3 separate regions of the Homo sapiens genome follow, and all the other regions are linked to region 1. The links are contacts of gene promoters, found by promoter capture Hi-C in blood cells and fetal thymus (Javierre and others, 2016). All regions are on one chromosome and are shown on one strand. Each heading gives the region's core, a stretch centred on a gene start or on the middle of the fragment in contact. The rest is flanking DNA. Distances are from core to core; before and after follow the strand shown.

What was found. The method cuts DNA at HindIII sites, captures the fragments that hold promoters and counts their contacts. A CHiCAGO score of 5 or more calls a contact.
Region 2: a contact is called between a fragment that was not itself captured here and the fragment with the promoter of SLC17A8 in region 1, in 3 of 17 cell types (M2 macrophages, M1 macrophages and M0 macrophages). The highest score is 6.0, in M2 macrophages.
Region 3: a fragment that was not itself captured here is called in contact with the fragment with the promoter of SLC17A8 in region 1 in 1 of 17 cell types (M1 macrophages); the score reaches 5.8 in M1 macrophages.

Annotation. Positions count from the first base shown.
Region 1 is chr12:100,355,654-100,358,916 of GRCh38, forward strand. It overlaps SLC17A8 (solute carrier family 17 member 8), which reads left to right and starts at 1,421. Exons shown (of 12, transcript NM_139319.3): 1 at 1,421-1,839. The coding sequence starts at 1,739. RefSeq lists enhancers at 871-1,371, 1,372-1,872. The HindIII fragment of the contact is 7,240 bases long and covers 1-2,931 here.
Region 2 is chr12:100,685,980-100,689,409 of GRCh38, forward strand. No RefSeq gene overlaps it. Among named protein-coding and RNA genes, the nearest start is that of ANO4, 110 kb to the right of the region's middle. The HindIII fragment of the contact is 938 bases long and covers 1,070-2,007 here.
Region 3 is chr12:100,750,448-100,753,576 of GRCh38, forward strand. It overlaps a transcript of ANO4 not described here. Among named protein-coding and RNA genes, the nearest start is that of ANO4, 43 kb to the right of the region's middle. The HindIII fragment of the contact is 2,678 bases long and covers 17-2,694 here.

The sequences.
Region 1 (3,263 bases), core at 171-2,670:
TTTGTCAGTCGCATGCAGACTGGAGGATTGGAACACAGGAGCCTCAAAGATGAAGAGTTTTTTTTCCACCGCAGCAGCATTTACAGAGGCGTCATCCTGCTGCCCATAAATGTGGCCACAACTTGCAGCGTTTCAGCCCCAGTTCAACAAGTATTTAGGTAACGCCCACTCCCTGCCAGGCTCTGCTAGGGCAGAGGACAGGTGATTTGGAGGCACAGAGGAGGGACATCTCACCTTGCCCATGCAGTTTTCTAGAGGATTGATATCTTAGCATGACCTTAGAACCCCTAGAAGTTACCCAGTTGAAGGGGTGCAGAGAGTTACCCAGGCAGAGGGCATAGCTTGAGTAAAGCCCAGAGGCAATAGGGAGCTTGCTGAGTTCAGTGAAATGAGGATGTGGAAAGCAGAGTGACAAGAAGAAAGACTTAGGGTCCCAGGGAAAGGCCTTGTGTGCCATGATAAAGAATTGTATTGTAAATAGTGCTGCAATAAACATACGTGTGGATGTGTCTTTGTAGTAGAATGATTAGAATACATGGATACAGAGAGGGGAACATCACACACCGGAGCTGGTCAGGGGTTGGGGGGCAAGGAGAGGGAGAGCATTAGGACAAATACCTAATGCATGTGGGGCTTAAAACCTAGATGATGGGTTGATAGGTGCAGCAAACCACCATGGCACATGTATACCTATGTAACAAACCTGCATGTTCTGCACATGTATCCTGGAACTTAAAGTAAAAAAAAAAAAGTCCATCTAGAGGGAGAAAAGGGGAAAAAACAAAAATAATTTTATTTATCCTGAGGACAATGAGGAGTCAGTGGAGAGTTCTAAGCAGGTTCTAGATATCTTCCGGCTCAGAAATCTTCAATTAGATGGTCCCAAATGGCATCTACGTATCATACTTTGAGAGAGCCTGCTCTGTTGATTAGGAGCAAATAAATGTCCTCCTGGATGTATGTGGCCTGGGTTTTGCATTTGGGCTACTCAAATGCAAGTTCCTCGTGGGACCACATCCATGCTAGTGGCTGGCTGAAAAACGGCTTCATGACTCTCATGAGGGGAATAAAAGGCATGGAGTGGTGGCTGTGAGCCTGTCTGCAGGGCCAGACCTCAGAAAAGCAAAGGGCTGTAAATGTTTCATAAATTTCTCTCTGGGTGCCTGCTCTGGCTGAGAGCCCATTCATAAGCCCAGGCGGCTGAGGGGCAGGTATTGTGCCGGTTACTATAGCATCACCTTGGAAAGTCTCACTTGGTGAGAGCGGCAGGCGAGCTGGGGTGGGGCAGGAGGGGGACGCGGCTGGCTGGAGGGGCTGGAGCTAGGCCACGGATACTGCTGCTGGTCTCAGGACTCCTGGTGGTCCGGAGCTCATGTTAGCGTCCCCAGCTGCAGCCCAGGGAGGGAGAGAGGCTGCGCTCAGTCTGAGAGTGGCTGCCTGAGACAGCTGCCACAGGCTGCTGCAGAGCGTGCAGCTTTTGCAAGGGACTGAATTCCCAGCCAGACACCCCTTGGACTCTTTTTTGGAGGGGTGGGGAGCAGAGAGAGGAGGGAGTTGTCTTATCTTGGAAGATCCGAGCTGGGTTTCATCTCCTTTTTGATTTTGAGTAGTTCCCTCCACGAGAACTGACTTCCAGGTGTTCACCAAGGGAAACAAGGTGGTTCTCACACTGGAAATGAGGAAGGATGACAGTTTTTGAGACTGACTGTTAACGGCTCAGAGGTGCCCCTCATTCAAAATGCCTTTTAAAGCATTTGATACCTTCAAAGAAAAAATTCTGAAACCTGGGAAGGAAGGAGTGAAGAACGCCGTGGGAGATTCTTTGGGAATTTTACAAAGGTAAAGTTTGAATGCGAACTTTAGTTCCTTTCTGAGTAGCTTCGTATTGCCAATGTGTGAGAGACTTGGTATCACGTTTTTAAAACCACACTTTAATGAGGAGAGGATGGGTCAGATTAGATCCTTCTGGAGCCCCTTCTAGCTCCAGTAGTCTATGCCTGGAGGAAAAACAGATGCATGAATAGTATTGGGTTGTATTAGGAAAAGATCAAGACAAATATGCTGTTTATATAGCTGGATTAGCACTTTCTGGAGATGATGATATTGCATATGGTATGTTTGGCATTGAATTAGAAAATATTTAGGGAGATAATATTTTATGTTAACTCATTAGTAATGACAAATATGCCTTGAACTGAAATAATTTTTATGTTTTTCACTGAATCCACTATAAATGAAAATTAAATATTTGCAATTTTTAGCTTATTTAATAAAATACATAAAGTGGTTCCTGATTGTATAGTTTGCAAAGAGAAGGATAGTTACACATTAATTTGAAGGAAGTAACTTAAAAAATGTCTTTGAAGCAGAAAATCTCACATAATTGCAGTGGGAAAATGTTAAGTACTATCACTGAATTGAATGAGATTTTAGTCCAAACCAAAAAGTAAATATTTTTTAAAGTAAAATATATTAATGGAAGGAGAGTTTGCTATAAATGATTGAATTAATGTGACAGTTTAATTTATGAATTTTTATAGACATAGTAAATGCCTTCTCAAATTATATAAATGATTTCATAAGTGGTCCTTATGTGCAAGGTAAAATGACTGCTTTATCTCTCTGATATAAATAAATGTGAAAAATAACTTTGATACACTTTTTATTTGTTTGGATGATTATTTCTAATCCTGGTGAGTGAAAATGCCATCTGGTGTGTCCTTTTAACTTTTCTATTATCTCTTAAATTTAAAAACTTTTTCATTTAAATGACTATTTCCAGGCAATCTGAGATTCATCCCATTTCTTGTGTTTTAAAACACATATGCTCCTGTCAGTGTTAAATTTTCCATGGTATCACTGTTAATATTAACTTTCCTAATAAGAAAAAAGAGTTGGACACCTTATTATTTTAGTAATTAGAAACAAAAAAGCTTCAATCAGACCTACACTGAATTAGCATGTCTAGATGAAAACCTAGCTCAGTGACAGCAGCATAAACCAGCCAAATATAGAAAAAATTACAATAACATTTTTTTCAGAGTGTTTTATCCTTCCGTTGAGCACTCCCCAGGTAACGTCTTATTGTGTTGGCGTTCATTTGATTAGAAACGCAAAAATAATTTTTGCATAATAAGCACGATAGCTTAATTGGCTTATTCAAGTAATGACAAAGGAATCTGGCAAAGTCAAGAATAAAAACCATAGGCCGGGCGCAGTGGCTCACGCCTGTAATCCCAGCACTTTGGGAGGCGGAAGTGGGA
Region 2 (3,430 bases), core at 289-2,788, 330 kb after region 1:
TTGTCAGGCTGTGAATTTCCCAAACCTTTATGCTCTGCTTCCTCTTCAACACTTTTCCGCTTAGAAATTTCTTCCACTAGATACCTTAAATTATCTCAAGTTCAAAGTTCCACAGATCTCTAGGGCAGGGGCAAAATGCTGCCAGTCTCTTTGCTAAAGCAAGAATGACCTTTATTCCCATTCCCTGCAAGTTCCTCATCTCCATCTGAGACCACATCAGCCTGGACTTCATTGTCCATATCACTATCAGCAATTTGATCAAAGCCATTCAACAAGTCTCTAGGAAGTTCCAAACTTTCCCACATCTTTCTGTCTTCTGAGCCCTCCAAGTCTCTAGGAAGTTCCAAAATTTTTCACATTTTTTCTGTCTTCTTCTGAGCCCTCCAAACTGTTCCAACCTCTGTCTGTTACCCAGTTCCAAAGCTGCTTCCACATTTTCAGGTATCCTCATAGCAGCACCACACTCTCTGCAGTATCAGTTTACTGTACTAGTCTGTTCCCATGCTGATATCAAGAATTGCCTGAGACTGGGTAATTTATAAAGGAAAGAGGTTTCATTGATTCACAGTTCTGCATGTCTGGGGAGGCCTCAGGAAACTTACAATCCTGGTGGAAGGGGAAGCAAATATGTCCTTCTTCACATGGCGGCAGGAGAGAGAAGTGCCACGAAAAGGGAGAAAACCCCTTATAAAACGATCAGATCTCATGAGAACTCACTCACTATCACAAGAACAGCAAAGGGGTAATCACCCCATGATTCAATTACCTCTCACCAGGTCCCTCCCATGACACATGGGGGTTATGGGAACTATAATTCAAGATGAGATTTGAGTGGGGACATAGCCAAACCATATGAAATGCTAATACATTAAACACTTCTCTCTTTCAGTGTACTGGCCCTTCTAAGGGGTGTTTGAATTTTAAACACCAGGCTCTAGAAAATAGTAACAAAAATCTTTAGTCAAAGGAAGATTTTGGCTTTGAACATTCCATATAATTATAGGCATATAGGTACAGAGTAACTTGGATGCTTTTGATAAGAAAATAACTATGGGTGATAGTCACTGAAAGCTTACTATGAGCAAAGCTCTGTGTCTAATATTTACATGATGTGGCAGAGATTATTAATTTCCCCCATTTTCCATTATTCAATGCATTTCTTTGATATTAAAAGAAATTCCGGTTTTTAGTTGGGCATGTGGCTTGCTAGAATAAAAACATTTCCAGCTTCCCTTTCAGTTTGAGTGGCCATATGCTTAAGTTCTGGCCAGTGGGTTAGAAACACAAGTGTCATGTGTAATGTTTGGGAAGTGTACTTAAAGAAAAGTGGCATGCACTTCTTTGTGCCTTCCTCCTTCCTGCTGGTTGTCCTGTATACATGACAGGGATGCTCAAGCAATTATCTTGGGCCATGAGGTGTGATGCCATGTGCTGGGATGGCAGTTGCCCATGCTGAGCTCTTCTAAATTCATCAATCATGTAAGTCACTCCTTCTTCTTTGGGAATCACAGAAAATCCCTGAGTTCTACCCTAATGGAAGTTCCACAAATGGAAACATGAGGAATGGGAAATCAGTTATCCAGTAATAGGAATTTTTTCTCTAATTTAATATGACTGGTAAAATTTATTTTTTTAAATATCACTTTTACTTTTGGAAACTAAAATTGAGTAATATAATAAGCGTACAGCTAGGACTTTAGTTCAAATCAACCTGTAAAATCATGTGTGTAATCACCATGCTATAGTGCACTAAGATCCCATTACTAATAATAGTATGCTGGTGAATATTTAGCTGGCAGGGGTTGGGAGGAAAAGCTCTGAATTTTAGTGTTTGCTGATTTCCTCAATGTAAATATTTCCACCAGGCTGATTTTAAGCAACCAACAATTCAGCAATAGGCTTGCAAAACTCCTGAAAATTTAGCAATCTCTTCTTGTGAGATTATATGAGCTAGCTCCAGGACACCTGTGAAATATACTTGGCTGAGCCTAAGAGACATTCCAGGCAAGCTTCAGGATGTCTCGGACTGTCTTTCCTATCACTCAGATTTTATGGGTTTGGCTCCACCTAGGATGACACCATGTCAGAGCTAGCAGAACACCTAGTGCACCCACATGATGTTGGTCATGAAGTGATTAAAGAGTAACAGCTTGACCAATGGCTTCTGAGGAAACTTAATGGAGCTACATAGGAAGTGCCATCACTTTCCTGTTCCTTTTTAATGGGCGATCCATTTTTGGAGAGACCACAAGTAGCAAATAACTCTTCTGGCCAAAGAGAGTTTAAAATGCTCCTCCTGCTGACAAAATGCAGAGAATGCCATCACTGGAGCTGAGGAAATACCATTTTGCCAAGAGAATTAGGGCTGGAGCATAAAGAGAAAGTGCTGTTGTCACAAATCCACGGTCAACACTTTACAGGCACGTTTAAGGAACTCAGTGCTTCCTACGGGAATCAATGGATAAAGACCCAATTCAATGAGAGCTGTAATTTGAGCAAGTGCTGGAGGAACAATTAAGACATTTAAAAAGGGGTCTGTGGTGACGAGGGCAATGTGGGATGCACAGATGAGGATATGGACAAAACCTGCCTTGAGAAAGCTCTCTTACCACATCCTTAGGAAGAAGGGTAGAAACTCTTAATGGAACCCACTGTGCATCCTTTGTAAAGTGCGGATGGTGGGTGTGTGCCAGAACTATAAATAGTTCTCCTGACATATTAGGTTCAGTTTCTCTCAATGAGTCATCTTGTTGACTACAAACATTCTTGAGCTAAAGAAGCTCTTCAGATTTGTTGAATACAGATACTCAATCTAGAGGACCCTGTGAGAGGCTGAGAGTCAAGGTTCTCCATGTTAGCAATATAGGACCATCAGCCCCAGCCCAGAATTTGATCTCACCTGAGGCCTAATCCTGTCTGTCTGCATTATGTAAGCAGGACATTTTTACCTTGCTTTCTGCTCTCCTTCACATGTCTCTGCTCCCTAAGAGAATCAGTTCCAAGGTCCTAGTGTTTTTGATCCAGCTCACTTTTCTTTGAATTTGTTTGCAAAACACACACTCTGTGGAGATTCTTTTGTTTTTTCCTTGTAGTAGCACTGTGCTGCTCCAAGGGCAGAGCTGTAGATGTCTTACATGCAAGTATTGGGGGATGAAGGTGTAATATTCACCTCTTAGTTCACGGACAAGCTTCTAAGGGTTCATAAACTCCTAGCTTGAGTGGATCATGTCACTGTGTTCAGTTTTCTGGGTAGTGGGCCTATTAGATTCTAAATGGACTCTGTGACACCCCCACCCCCCATCACCACCTGAATATTAAGATCTGCTGAAATTGTCCCTATCTTTTGGAAATTTTAAGCATTTGACTTCAAACTATGCCCTTTTTTTGTCATCCTGCCCCCACTGGCAACTTACACTTGGAAATGTGGACG
Region 3 (3,129 bases), core at 106-2,605, 390 kb after region 1:
TTCTGCATTTCTAACAAGCTTCCAAGTGATGCCCATGCTGTCAGTCATGGAGCTTGGGATTCAGTACAAGACACAGGTAACAAAAAATATTATACCAAATAATTTGTGGTCACTAACAGGCAGATGCTTTGAAGGATAGGAATAATCCTCTTCTTAAAGATTCTTGGCAATACTGTTTTTATCAAAACACGCCTCTGAGTTCCCAAAACAGTACTCTATAAAGAAAATTTTCTTTACCACCAGTTATAAGTGGGAAGTCTGCTTATGCCCTGTTACAGGAATATTATTTGTCTGTGATATATAAGTGTCCAAACGTTTCCACAGACATTGTTTTGATATTAAAAACCAAATGAAAATCCCAGCAACCATGGTACTGACTCAAGAGGGAGCTTAGCTGTCTTAGTTCTGGTTCTCTGGGAAATAGATTTTGAGCCAGAGATGTGCATGCAAGAAGTTTCCTGGGGAGAGCAGTTGGGATCCGTATGTATGGTGTGTGTGTGTGGTAGATGGAGGGAAGCATAACCAGGCAGAGGGAAGATATGAGCTGTGATGATGCACAAACATGGCCTCAGCCCTCACAGAGGGATACCTGGAGCTGGGACAGTCCTTCAACATTGTCCCACAACAAAGCTATTGTAACCTGCCATCATTGCCTGGATGCAAGCTGCCACGAGGAATGAATGTGACCCTGGGGAATTCTCTTTGCGGGCAGTTTCCCAAGAAAGATTCAGCCGAGAGCCATCAGCAGCTGGGGGTGTACCATGGGGCCCACAGCATCCATGACATCAGCTGATGGAAGTGAAGTGTTTAGAAAGATCTACGCGGGAAAGCAAGTGGGAGAGAATGGTGGAATTCTCAGTTTGACCGCAAGCATGGAAAATCTCTGCTGACCTAAGAAAAAGGCCCAGAATCTGAGCAGGTTTTCCAACCCCCAGGAACTGCTGAGTATCTGGATTCTGGTTCAGTTTGTAGTTCTCTCCAGCAAAGAGGCACCTAACAGATTGGGAAACACCCTCTGGTCACTATTCCTCCTGGTTATGTGGGTATATATTTTGGAAACTATGCAGTTTTTGTCTTTTTCAGGCAAATAAGGATACAACTGATTTGTGGTTGTAATTGGAGAATGGAAGAGTTGGCTCACTTTCCTTGTCCCAGGTCGTGTAACTCATATTCATTTATTCAGCAGCTATTTATTGAGTGCCTACTTTGTGCCCAGTACTACATTAGGTGCTGGGTGTACTGGAGTGACCCAAGCAGACAAGGCTCCTTTCTTATGGAATGGCAGTGGGATAGGCTAGTAGAAGAGAGAGATATGAAATAATCACCCAAATAAGGAAATTTCATTAGCTCAGTGAAGGCAAAGGACACTATTAGGGGGTGTATAAAGAGGGCATTTAATTTGGATTTTGAAGATGGGGAAAGACTGAGGATGTGGTAGTAATTTGAGAGAGATCTCAAGGATGTGTTGGAGCTGGTGAAGATATAGTTGGAATGTGGAATAGGAGACAAAGACCTGGCTTGTCTTCTCAGCTTTGTGACTTATCATGTTACCTTCACACTAAAGACTTAACTTCTTTGAGCCTCAATTTCTTCATCTGTAAAATGGTGCAGTTATAAGACTCAAATGAGATAAAATAGGCAAAGTGTTTTTCAAATCCTAAAATGTTAGCGAAAGCTACTTTTCCTATTAATTATTCTAGCCCATGGATTCCTTCTCTCCCTTCTCTTAACTGTCTCCTTCTCATATTTCCTGTGCTGGGCTTCGATGCTGAGGTTTAGTTAATAGTAAAATGCTATGTAGTTACCTTCTTTTAGCCTATGGCTTTCAACATTTTTGAACAATACCTAAAGTAAGAAATATTTATGTATTGTGACCTACTACTACTACTACTTCTCCATCCCTTCCTTCCTCCCTCTCCCTCTTACACACACACAAACCTGAAAAAAAATTTAAGGAAATAATTCTTATTATTTATTACATACTCTGATATTTTTCATTCCATTCCATTCTGTTCCCCAAAAACAACAAGTCAAGATCCATTAAACAGATGTCACTGCTTACGAAGGAATTGCAACTCATAATTTGAACAAGATTGATTTAGATAATATAATACCTGAAATCCTTTGGAAACCTTATAGGGGTCACGCAATCTTTTTTTAATGTGTGTGTGTGTGAGGTCTGTTGTACAAGGAAATTATTTCTCTTTGAGACTGATTATTAATGTTCATTTCAAAACATCTATGGTGCCTATGGCAATGAGACTGTCTCCCAGAGTTGGCAAAGATGTGATCCCTCAAAAGGGCTCTGTATTCCCTGCAGTTCTGACATCTCTGGAGTCAGTGAAGAACTGTGGCAAAGGATCTATATCCATTAACCATTATTATGATAATACTGAATAACAAACAACCCCAAAACCTCAGTGGCATACAGGATTAAGCATTTACTCGTTTATCTAGAATCAGCTGGGACTTGGCCAGAGCTCTGCTGATCTTGGCTGGGCTCACTCAGTATCTTGGAGTTGGCTGGCTCTTGGCTGATCTAGGTTGTCCTCAATGGGAGCAATTGGGATGACTCAGCTGTGCTCCATAAGTCTCTCCTCTTCCAGTAGGCACAGGAATGTGCTTCCTGGCACATTCTCATGACAGTGGTGGAAGTGCCAGAGAAGGGGCCAGTCCAATCATGCAAGCACTCCAAGCTTCTGATGGCAGCGTATTTGCTAATAGTTCATCAGCCAAAGCCATGCCACATGGATGAGCCCAAAATTAAAGATGGGGCAGAATGTCTTATTCTCAGTGGAACAACACTGCTAAGCCACATGATGAAAGGCTGTGGAATTAGGGAACTGTGAATAATTGGGGCCAAAGACACAATCTATCACAGCCTCTCTATCTCACGTACATGATCTCTTTCACCCCAAAGAGGCCATTTTATTTTTCAAGTGGGCTCAGATCTGAGTCCTTTAGGCTGGGCCAGGAATATTTATCTGAAAGAGACATCATGCTGTCCTCCTCATACCCTGGGTAGATTGTCCTCCTTTTACCTATTCCAACCTGAAGTTGCCTATAAAGGCCCTCTCTTCCTCAGTGTACATCACTTTAGGAAGGCAGACACTTGCAGGCAGCCTGCTC